3 separate regions of the Homo sapiens genome follow, and all the other regions are linked to region 3. Evidence: promoter capture Hi-C in 16 types of primary human blood cells and fetal thymus (Javierre and others, 2016). All regions are on one chromosome and are shown on one strand. The core of a region is centred on a gene start or on the middle of the fragment in contact, and the rest is flanking DNA. Distances in the headings are between cores, read along the strand shown.

Evidence for each region. The method cuts DNA at HindIII sites, captures the fragments that hold promoters and counts their contacts. A CHiCAGO score of 5 or more calls a contact.
Region 1: a fragment that was not itself captured here is called in contact with the fragment with the promoter of SPIN4 in region 3 in 1 of 17 cell types (monocytes); the score reaches 6.2 in monocytes.
Region 2: a contact is called between a fragment that was not itself captured here and the fragment with the promoter of SPIN4 in region 3, in 1 of 17 cell types (M2 macrophages). The highest score is 6.1, in M2 macrophages.

The regions. Positions count from the first base shown.
Region 1 is chrX:63,755,411-63,759,372 of GRCh38, forward strand. All of the region lies in intron 1 of ARHGEF9 (Cdc42 guanine nucleotide exchange factor 9), which reads right to left. Among named protein-coding and RNA genes, the nearest start is that of ARHGEF9, 28 kb to the right of the region's middle. The HindIII fragment of the contact is 3,289 bases long and covers 1-2,913 here.
Region 2 is chrX:63,686,917-63,690,851 of GRCh38, forward strand. All of the region lies in intron 4 of ARHGEF9 (Cdc42 guanine nucleotide exchange factor 9), which reads right to left. Among named protein-coding and RNA genes, the nearest start is that of ARHGEF9-IT1, 17 kb to the left of the region's middle. The HindIII fragment of the contact is 2,090 bases long and covers 1,020-3,109 here.
Region 3 is chrX:63,348,904-63,353,089 of GRCh38, forward strand. SPIN4 (spindlin family member 4) reads right to left here and starts at 2,429. Exons shown (of 1, transcript NM_001012968.3): 1 at 1-2,429. The coding sequence starts at 1,916. The coding sequence ends at 1,167. It overlaps SPIN4-AS1 (SPIN4 antisense RNA 1), which reads left to right. Exons shown (of 3, transcript NR_046739.1): 2 at 737-831; 3 at 2,939-3,285. RefSeq lists enhancers at 1,618-1,747, 1,848-1,897, 2,168-2,217 and a silencer at 2,418-2,647. The HindIII fragment of the contact is 10,204 bases long and covers 1-3,568 here.

The DNA of each region.
Region 1 (3,962 bases), core at 19-2,518, 410 kb after region 3:
AGATGGGGAGGAAAAGGACTGGGAAAGAGGGAGGGAAGGGACCCAATAGGATGCAAGGGGAGGAGATCACGTGAAGAGGGAGAAAAAGAAGAAAAGACGAGGAGGAAGGAGAAGAGAGGGAAGATAATGAAGAAAGAGAATTGTGGGGAAAGGCAGAAAAAAGGATGGTGAGGAGAAAGAAGGAATGGGGGAAAAACGGATAGGTAGCTGTGGAGAATGCATGTGCCTAGCAGCCACTTTGTTTGGAGCCTGGGCCAAGGAGGAAGCAAAGGTGCTTTTGGCCACTGCCTAAGAATTTACAGGCAACCCACAATTAGCTATAAAAAGCCAACAAACCAGTGTTGTGGACAGAATCACAGGGACACACGACAGAATTTCCAAAATCCAATTCTATTTGGCTTTCCCTGATACCACTGCCCTTACCTGGTCAGATTTCCTTTCTTGATTATAGATTCTTCAGACTAGGACAGTTAGCTTGCAATTTTCCAGCATTCTGGGTACTATGAAGGGAAGCCAGCATAGGGTTAAACATTCGCCATGGAAAATCCTCTACAGAACTTGCAATCTGCTTCTAATCATTGCCCTGCTCTGTGACCTGGTATCTAGAGCTAAGGAGGGAAAAGCCATGGAGTGGAGACCAGAAGGTTTCAAATTTACTCTCAGCCCTACCTCAAACTTGCTGTATGACTTTTGGGCAATTCCCTTTTCCTCTCAGGGGTCTGTCTTCTGTCTCCCTCCTGTCAATGAGGACTTAGACTTATCTGAGAATTCAGTTAAACCTCAGAACACTCACCTCAGAAAAAAACAATTTCAGTGGTTCCCTGGGCCTTCAAACCAAGGATTCCCTTATACAGGAGATCTCTCAGAGCCTTTTTGCTCTTATATTATAGGATTATATGACTGAACAGATAGGTATATACCTAAGAAAAATGAAAACATGCCAACACAAAAACTTATACATGAATGCTTATAACAGCATTATTCACAATAGCCAGAAGATGGAAACAATTCAAATGTCCAACAACTGATGAATGGGTAAACAAAATGTGGTATATACATACAATGAAGTATTATTTAACCATAAAAAGGAATGAACTACTGATACATGCTACAACATAGATGAGCTTTGAAAACATGCTAAGTGAAAGACGTGAGAAAAAGGCTTTTGTAAGATTCCATTTATAGAAAATGTTCATATAGTTAGCGTAAATACTGTTTCATGATGCTTTTGTTTCAGTTATATATAAATATAAATGTACTGGCCTGTAATGTGAAATGTGTTTCTTATAGCAAGTAATAGTCAAAACGGTTTGAAAACTACTCTTCTAGATTATGTTGAGACAGATACTGGTGATCAGGACAGTACCATAATATAAACAACTACAGTCTTTCTCCTAGTCTTTGAAAGTTCAGTCTTATCCTGTCTCTATTTCCTCATTATCTTTTGACCCCTCAACCCACTGCATCCTGGCTTTACCCTCATTGTCCTATAGAAAACTGAAACCTCTTGTGAATAGGAAAAAAAACAACCAACTTGTTACTAAATCTCATGGCCAACTTTCAATCTTTACCTTTCGTAACTTTTCTCCCATTTGACTCCACTGATGCCTTCCTCAATCCTGAAATGCTCCTTTTCCTTGGGAACACCATCCACATGACCTGTATGTTTATGCTGTCTTCACTTCCTGCATGGGTTCTTCTTCATCCAGTCATTAATGCCATGATTTCTGAGTTCTTCTGATTGCAGTCCCCTTTTCTTCTCATTCTGCATTTGCACTGAATGGGCTCATCTACTTCCAAGGCTTGAACTACCATCTACATTGCACATTGATGCACCTCCTTTCTACAAAATTACACCACCACTGGGAAACAAAACAGACATAGGACCTTGCTTGCACGTAAGCAGAGAGCTGCTGATGACTCCAAGGTAGCTCTCCTGGACCCCAGAATGAAAGTTCTACTGCTTTCTGGATATCTCCTCCTTAGTATCTCACAAGCATATCAAACTTAAAAAGTCCCAAATTGAAGTCATCTCCTCCCACTCTTGCTGGTTTCCTTCTTCCCCTGAGTCCTTTGTCTCCTGGGAATGGCAGTCACACACTGAGCTTGCCAGAAACCAAGAAAATATCTACAAGTTTTTTCTCTCCCTCACCTCACTGGTGGCCAACAAGTCTTTTAGTTCTGTTGATCCTCTTCCTCCTTAATCTCTCTCATTTGTCCCTTTCTCTCTTCCTGCTGTCACTACTTTTAATCAGTTCCTCATCATCTCTGATCCATCACAATTCATTACCAGTTATCTTATGCTGCTCTCCCTCCCCAATTAAGCCTCTACTCTTCTGCCCAAATTCTTTCCTCAAAAGCAGTTTTGCTCTTGTCAATCTTGGGTAGATACTCTGGATTGGTTTTTAAGGATCCACTCCTTCTAGCCTGCCTTCCTATATTGCTGAAAAGCTAAAAACCAAAAAAACTACAACAACAATAAACTGGCATTTCCAAGATTCCTTTGCAGCCAGCGTTCTGGATATGACATAGTGATGCCAATCATATGCACATGCACAGTATTTAGAAGGAGGTGGTTGGTGAGCCAGAAGTCATGTCTCTGTTGCTTCTGTTGGAAAGCACAATGGTGAAAGTGTTGGGGTTTTTTTGTGTGTGTTACCGTAGGTTCCAGTGTCTAGCCATTGGCTTTGTGCATTCTGAGAGCCAGAGAATGGGACTTTTTTTTTTTTTTTTTGTCACTGAGGATCTGGTAGGCATAGTGATACTCTAGCCAACAGATGGTTAGAGCTGTGGCAGCTTCCTCATTCCTAAATTGCAGACAAGGCAGCATGCTCCTAGAGCCCCTGACGCCTCATCTTCCTGCTTGTCAGAGAGAGCAGCTACCCTGACACTGTTCTTGGAGGCATAGCCTAAAGCTTGCCCCTCCAGCCCTCCCACCAATTTTGTAAGCACTTTATTTTCTATATTAAAACTCCTTCTGCTGAAAAGAACTACAGTGGTTTATTTTTGCAGCTGAAACCTGACTTATATAATGCCTCTGTTCAAAGGCCTTCAATAGCTCCTCGGCGCATTTAAGGCAAATTCTGTAGTGTGGCATAAAATGTCCTGCCAATCTGATGTCCTTCGGCCTCTGTATCCTCAGCTCTTACCAGTGCCCTCTCATTCTCTGTTCTCTAGCTACATAGAACCTACAGTAGTTCTCATAACTCATGAGGTTCTCTTGCCTCAGGGCCTATATAAACTGCTGCTTTATTTTTCCAGCTCCCCATTTCAAAGCTCAGCTGAGGTGCCACCACCTCCAGAAGGCTTTCTCTAATGTTCTCTTCCTCAACAATATTCTGAATGATAGTCCTCTCCCATAGGATCCTACGTTTAGCCCTCTTGAAACATTTATTAAACTGTATTGTATTTTTTTCTTGTTTGTATCCTTTACTGGACTGTGAAGCTAGGAGGGCAGAGACCACGACTGTCTTGTTCACTGCTTTCTCCCTTTGTGCCCAGCGCAGTGTCTGACACTTAGCAGGTGCTTCATAACAAACACCTATTGGATGCATGAATGTCTCCTTCATCCACTGGTCTCCACTCAAAGACTCATATCTTCCAACCACAGAAGGCAGGACCTGATGGAACCACAGAGAAAAATCTAAGCCCTTATATTCCAGGTTCACAGAGAAGGGAAGCAACTTGTCAAAGATTATACAGCTAATTGCTGGCAGAGTGGGAACCAAAGCCCTTGTATCTTAAGTCTCAAAAGTACTTTTGAGAGATTTCAGACCCTGGAACACGGTATTTGATACCAGCCCTGTCCATGTGTGGGTAGCTTTCTGAGTTATGTGACCAATCAACTTTGCTCACAATTTTTTTTAATGGAGTCCTCTACATTTGGAGTAGCAATACCCCTCCCGAGATCTATTCCTTCTTGCTGACAAGTCTCAAGGAATTAGATAATCTCTTGGTCTAGC
Region 2 (3,935 bases), core at 815-3,314, 340 kb after region 3:
CTGGAAAAAATAAAAGTGGACAGCTAGCTTCCCCACCATCTTAGATTCCTTTCCAGAAAAATTATTCCTGCCTCAACCTGTAAGAAGCCTCTTGAATGCCTGCAGAGTAAAAAATCCCAAAGGCAGCTAGAGTTAGAGGGTGGGGGTGGGGTTAGCAACACCCAGTGCATGAAACTCCAGCTTCCCTTCATCTGACCTCAAAAAAGACACCAAATCAGAAAGGCTGTTTAACAGCATCACGTTGCAGGAAGCACACTTCATCAGTCCTCTGGGAACAAACCTCCATCCAGCTTTCCCACAGAGCTGGGGTATCTTTGGGATTCCTCCCCATCCAGGATGAGTAGCACTCTGAAATTGAGAAAGACTATGTCAAATCTGGGTTCAGGGTGCCATCTAGTGTTGAAAAGGAGGCAGTGATCTCAGGCTAAGGGAACTAAATAGTCACTCTGCACAAAACCTCTAGACAGACATACTTCTGAAAGACCAAACCAAGCCAGACAGTGAAGACTGGAATAAAGAACTAATCCTTCAATGCAAATGCACAGACATATATCCATAGAAAGAGCAAACAGGAAACCATGACATTCCCAAATAGACAAAATAAGGAGCCAGTGACTGACCCTAATGAGATGATGTTGTGTGAGCTCTCAGATCAAGAATGCAGAATAGCAATTTTCAGGAAACTCAGAAAATGCCAATGTAACACAGAAAAGCAATTCAGAAATGTATTACAGAAATTTAACAATGAAATTGAAATTTTAAAAAATTAAACAGAAATCCTAGAGCTAAGAAATACAATAGTCAAACTGAAAAATACATGGGATGGTCTCAACAACAGAATTGATCAAGCAGAAGAAAGAACCGGTGAGCCCTAAGACTATTTGAAAATACACAATAAGAAGAGAAAAAATAATGAGAAAAATGAAGAACGCCAACAAGATCTAGGGGATAGCCTCAAAAGAGCAAGTCAAAGGGTCATTGGCTTTAAAGAGGATGTTGAGAAAGAACAAAAGGTAGAAAGCTTATTCAAAGTAATAATAACAGAGACTTTTCCAAACCTAGAGAAAGATATAAATATCCAGGTACAGGGTTAAAGACAACCAAACATGTTCAATCTAAATAAGATTACCCTAAGGCATATAATAATCAAACTCTCAAAGGTTAACAGACAAAGAGGGAAATCTTAAAAGCAGCAAGAGAAAAGAAGCAAATAACATATAAAGGAGTTTCAATTCCTGTGGTAACAGAGTTTTCAGTGTAAGTCCTACAGGGCAGGAGGGAGGGGGGCAACATATTCAAAGTACTGAATGAAAAAAACAAAACAACAACAACAAAAAAACCTCCCATACTGTGCCCAGCAGAGCCATCCTTCAAACATGAAGGAGAGATACAGACTTTCCCAGACAGAAGCTGAGGGAATTCATCAACAGAAGATTTGTCTTACATGAACTGCTGAAGCCAGTTGTTCAATCTTAAAAGAACACTAATATGTATCAAGAAAACACCTGAAGTTATAAAATAAACTGGTAAACGTATATAGACAAATTCAGAATAAACTATGCAGACAAATACTGAATTGTGGTGTGTAAACCGTTCACAACTTTAGTATGAAGACTGAAAAAAATCTATCAAAAATAATGACAATTTATTAAGGTCAGCCTGGCCAACATGGTGAAACTCCATCTGTACTAAAAAATACAAAAATTAGCTGAGTGTGATGGCACGTGCCTATAATCCCACCTACTCAGGAAGCTGAGATAGGAGAATCGCTTGAACTCGGGAGGCAGAGGTTGCAGTGAGCCGAGATCGTGCCACTGCACTCCAGCCTGGGAGACAGAGCAAGACTCCATCTCAAAAACAAAACAAAACAAAAAGGCAATTTATTAAGGGATAGGCAATATAAAAAGATGTAAACTGAGAAAACAAAAAGTTAAAATGGGGAAGTAATGGACTTAAATTTTAGAGATTTTAGTTTTTAATTTTTCTTTTGATCAAAGTTAAGTTGTCATCAGTTTATAATAAGATGTTCTAAGCCCCACAGTAACATCAAAGCAAAAACCTGTAAAAGATACACTAACAAAAGCAAATAATTAATACATGCCACCAGAGAAAAATCACTAAACAACAAAGGAAGATAGTAGTAAAATAATGGAAGACAGGAGTTACAAAACAATCAGAAAATAATAACAAAATGGCAGTAGTAAGTCCTTACCTTTCAAAAATAACATTGAATGTAAATGGGACTAAATTCTCCAATTAAAAGAGAGTGGCTGAATGGATTAAAAAAAACAGCATCCAACTATATGCTGCCTTCAAGAAGTTCACTTCTTTAAGTGAATTTCTAGTGAATAAGACACATAGAGACTAAAAGTGAAGGGATGGAAAAAGATACTGCGTACAAATAGAAACCACAAAAGAGCAGCAGTGGCTACACATATATCATACGAAACAGACTTCAGGTCAAAAACTGTAAGAAAAGACAAAGAATGTCATTATATAATAATAAATGGGTCAATTCAGCTACAGGATATAACAATTATAAATTCGCATGCACCCAACACTGGAGCACCCAAATATACACAACAAATATTAGTAGATTTAAACAGAGAGACAGACTACAACACCATAATAATAGGGAACTTCAACACTCACTTTCAGCAATGAACAGATTATCCAGACAAGATATCAACAAAGAAATACTGGATTTCAGTTGTACTATAGACCAAATGTACGTAACTGAAAATAACAGAACATATCATCCAACTGCTGGAGACTACACATTTTCCTCATCAGCATATAGAACATTCTTGAAAACAGGCCATATGTTAGGCCATAAACAAATCTCAACAAATTTTAAAAAGTCAAATTAATATCAAGTGTCTTTTCTGACCACAATGAAACAACACTAGAAATCAGTAAGAAGAGCACTTAAGAAACTGTACAAATACACCGAAATTAAATACATTGCTCCTGAATGATCAGTGGGTAAATAACAAAATTCTTTTAAAAAATAGAAATTTCTCAAAACAAATGAAAATGAAAACACAAGATACTAAAGCCTATGAAATAAAGCAAAAGCAGTACAAAGAGGAAAATTTATGGCAATAAAAGCTTTCATCAAAAAAGAAAAAGAAAGTCTTCAAATAAATAATCTACCAAGTCACTTCAAAGAATTAGGAAGGCAAGAACAAACCAAACCCAAAGCTAGTAGAAGGAAATAAATAACAAACACCAGAGCAGAAATAAATGAAATTAAGGCTGAAAAATACAAAAGATCAATGAAATGAAAAGTTGTTTTTTTTGAAAAGATACTCAAAATCAACAAATCTTTAGCTAGACTAAGAAAAAAAGAATACTCAAATAAATGAAATCAGAGGTGAAAAGGGAGAATATAACTGATACCACAAAAATACAAAGGATCATTACAGAGAATATGAACAACTACAGGCAAACAAATTGGAAAACCTAGAAGAAATGGATAAATTCCTGGATACATATGACGTACCAAGATTGAACCATGAATAAATAGAAAACCTGAACAAACCAATAACAAGTAACAAGATCAAAACAGTAATAAAAAGTGTCTCATCAAAGAAAAGCCAAGGACCTTACGGTTTCACTGCTGAATTCCACCAAACATTTAAAAAAGAACTGATAATAATTCTATGCAAATTATTTCAAAAAAGTAAAGAGGAGGAATACTTCAAACTCATTCTATGAGGCCAGCATTACCCTGGTACCCAAACCAGACAAAAACACATCAAAAAAAGAAAACTACAGGCCAATATTACTGGCAAACATAGATGCAAAAATTCCAAACAAAATACTAGCAAACTGAATTAAACAACACATTAAAAAGATCACTCACGATGATCAAGTGGGTCTCATCCCAGGGACAAAAGTTTGGTTCAACATATGCAAATAAATAAACGTGA
Region 3 (4,186 bases), core at 1,179-3,678:
TAAAAAAAGGAAACCAAAATCTATAAAAGAGATAAGGGTCTACCTAAAAAGTTTAAAAATTTTAAAGGAAAATATATCATCAATAAAGTCAAGATGAAAACGTCATAACACATTAGAGCTACAAATGATTAATATGCACTATGTAGTAAGAATTTCTACAAATTTATAATGAAAAACATCAATAGATACATGAGCAAAGGGTAAGAACAGGCAAATCAGAGAAAAATCCAAACAGAAACAAGGACAGCAACAACAACAAACCTCTTTGAACTCAGACAAAAGGCAATTAAACTAACAAGCAATACAATGCAATTTTTAGCCTTTCATATTTTCAAGCATTAAAGAGTGCTGGAGAGGACGCTGGAACGGGCGCTTTCATTTTGGATAGTAATCTTGTAATATTTCTGAAACATATGCCTACATAGTATTTCTGGGAATCCAACCTATATAAATAAAAGCACCAGTATGTATTACAGCAGTGTTATTTTGAAAAAAAATAAAAAAAGGAAATAAAAGACGATCAATAACGAAATGGTTGAATGCCTTTTTGGTACATCAACAAGTACTGTGTATTCAGCTGTTAGAGTAAGGGAGGGAGGGGGAGAGCAAGAGTGCAAGAGAGTAAGAGTGAGGGCCAGAGAGAGCCAGAGAGAGCAAGAAAGACTGAAGCTACTGATAAGAAGAGATATCATCTACATGTCAAGTGAGAAAAGCATGTGGCTTGCCATTTTTACAGAAACTACTAGAACATACTTTCTGCATGAAGATGGGGAAAATAGGTGGAAGGATGTACTTCGCATCCTCAACACTTGTTTTCTGGGAAGAAACAAGGTAAGGAAAGGAAGGGGTAAGGACGGGGTGTGGGTTTACACCATTAATTTTTCTTAATCTATTTTTGCATTGTTCCAATGGTTGCAAACACTTTTTAATTTTCTATTAGCACCCAATTTAACTGTTAAGTTACAGAACAAGGCAATATCAAAAGTAGCAAAGTACACTTGAGGCAAAATTGTGAAACTAGTCAAGGTAAGATTTGTTGGCACAATAAAATTTATCCACTTTCCTGAATTTCTGACACCTAAACTCTTCTCTGCGTTCACAACTACGAGAACACAAAATAATTCACATCTAACAGATCCACAACTTCTCTAAAGAGCACAAAGAATTTAAGGAGTTTTCACCAAACCATAGACATAAATGTGAATATCATCATCAAACTTAATGAAGTAAACAGATGGCTTCGCCACCACTTGATGTATAAAAATGCCAGTTCTCTTGGACCCGTCATCTTTGGCATGCTCCACCTGCTTGCCCACGAGACTGTCGACCACCTCTCCAGGCTCCTGTTCTGCTGTAGGGAAATAGTAGTTGGAATCTGGAATAATGCGTAAGTCACCATCTTTGTAGTCATCAAGCAGCGTGTACATATAGAGAACAGGATCTTTCTCGTAGGTGATGTAAAACCAAGTATCCATCACAGGAGCTCGCGCCAGGACCATACCCTTCCATTCATCCTTGGTACCATGTTCACCTTCAAACACATGCTCCACTGCCTTGCCAATCAGGGAATCTGCCAGTCGTGAATCGATACGAGGAGTTGGCACTCTCTCAGGAAGGATCTCTAGCGCTAAAACTCTCTTATCGCGGTGCAGTTCTAGTCCATACACACTATCTTTGCCATCATATTTAATGATGTAAAGAGTGGGCTTCACGGAAACCTGCTCGAGCACAGTACCCTTCCACTGCTCCACTGGCTCGTTGCCTTCCTTCCAGCCGTGTTGAATGCGGCAGCCCACGATGTTCCTACGAGTGAGGAAAGTGGGCTTGCGCCGTTGCTTCCTGTGGGTGTGCCTTTTCTTCATCAGGTATGCGGACACGCCATCTACCCCCATCGGAGGCACGGTTGGAGGAGACATAGCTCAGGGATTAAGAGGGCTTGGGGAAAGCTGCTGCCCTGGTCGATTAAACTGACAAAAAGTCAACACTATGCAATATGATATATATATTTTTTGCGATCTCAAAGACCTGGTCTGTGCTCCCTTCTCCAAGTGCAAGGCTCTCACCAAGGTTTTGGCAGAAACGCTCGAACTCTAACCGTGAGCACTGGGACAGCGTGTGCCTCTCCACAGTGCTTTCCTCTCTCGCCCTAGAAGGGTTACTGCAGCAGTGGCGGCTGACGTAGAGATGGCGGGCTCGCGAGTGCTGTTCGTGCCTTGCGTCCGCCCCAACCCCGACCCCAAGTCCCCGAATCGGCCACTTAGCTGTTGTCGATGCTGGTGCGGCTGCGGCACGGCGGCAGAGGAGACGACGGGGACGAAAGGCAAGGAGTAAGAGGGATGGCTGCAGCGGCAAAGGCGCAGGCGGCGGCAAGTCTCTGGGGAGTCCGCGCGGCCTGGGCTTCGCAGCGCTAGCTGGCTTGGCTTCACTCTGGCGACCGGGTCTTTGCGGCGCAGGGAACCCGCCCCCTCTGAGCCCGCCTGAGCCTTGGCCCCGCCCCCAGCCATCCCGCCTTCCGCTCTGCGGGCGGCAGCCGGGCTGGTCAGCGCGCGTGCCCGTGTTCAGTTTGTATTGACACACGCGCCCTCTCTTTCATTTCCTCCTCCGCCCCTCGACCGTTTCCCTCAAACGCCAGCCAGACAGGCCGACTCCCCTCCTCCTCCTTTCTGGCGGTCTGCTGCCCGCCAGCCTCCTACACAGTGGCTCCATCTGCTTTCTGTCTTCCAGGAATTCCTCACTTAAAAAAAAAAAAAATGTAAAACACACGCACACCCAGAAAGAGTTTGTGCATACAAATTATTTTCTTTCAGTTTAAGATATTTAAGATGAGAATAAAAACCCTGTGTACAATTTACAGACCACCATCTTAATCCAAAATCTGTTTTATATTTTCTACCTGATCATTTCTAGTAATTATTTTTATTTTTTTTTTTTTTGTCAGAATGTAAAGGTCATGTACTGACATTGTGGAGATCTTCTAAAATTCAGTGAAATAAAAGACGAAACTACCATTAATTTTACCATCCAGACTGCACCAAAATGTTAACAATACTGTTTTCTCTCCTATTAATAAACCTGTACTTATATTTTATAAAATTGGGAGCATATTTCATACTTTTATAACTTGTGTTTTTCATGTATATCATGAACATTTTCCAAGATTGTTAAATACTCTGAAAACATGATTTTTAATAGTAATATTAAATATTTGTAATATTCCTTTTGATAGTCCACTATTTATCCTACATGATCTATAACATAAGTATAAATAAAAACATTTTACCTTCATAAATGGATTTATTGTCTAAACCATTTTTTAAAAGAAGATTTAATGACATGGAGAGCTGCACATGAGATGAGTACAATGAAAAAGCAAAATATTGAAACAATATTGTGGTCTTAATTTTGTAGAGAGAGAAAGAAGGGATTTTTTGTGTATATATTTGCTGTTTTTCTGATTATAAAAGTGCTGCATGCTTATATCGAAAACCTGCAAGAAAAGAAAGTGTCCATAATTTCACTTACCTTAAGTCACAGAGCTGCTATGAGGATTAAATGAGAATGTCTGTAAAGCTTTTAACACTATATCCCACTTACAAGATGACATTAAAATCCAGAAGAGTCTAGGGTTCTCATTTTCATTCCTCTACTCTTCACTGGTGAAAAGAGAAAGCGTCATATAATCATGAGTAAAAAAGGCAATTAATTCACCTGGAAACAAAACCGGGGCAAAAGCTGCAAGGTGTCAATACTGGTTGCCTGAACATTTCATTACCTTCCAAGTCAGTGACAGAGAGACCTAGTCCTCATTCTGTTTAATAGCTGGTCACACAGAATGTGTAAGGATCCTCCAGTTCACCATGTTTCCCAGGCAAAGGACTTCAGAGATGGGATAATTCTTTAATGCCATATTACAAGATAGTAATTCCAAGGAAGAAGGTAAACTACATGTATGAACAGTTATTTCCAAACACTTAGAATGACATCGTGGTGTATATATATTCACACATATACACAACCTACACATTCATACTCAAAGTCAGAAGGTGAACGTATGTAAATGTTATGCCATTATGTTCCACAAATAATGTCTTCCAAATAATTCCCCAGACCAAGATACACCAAGCACTTTTTGCTCAGAAGAGCAGTTGACACATGAAAGAAGAAGATGACCCACAGGGCACACAAA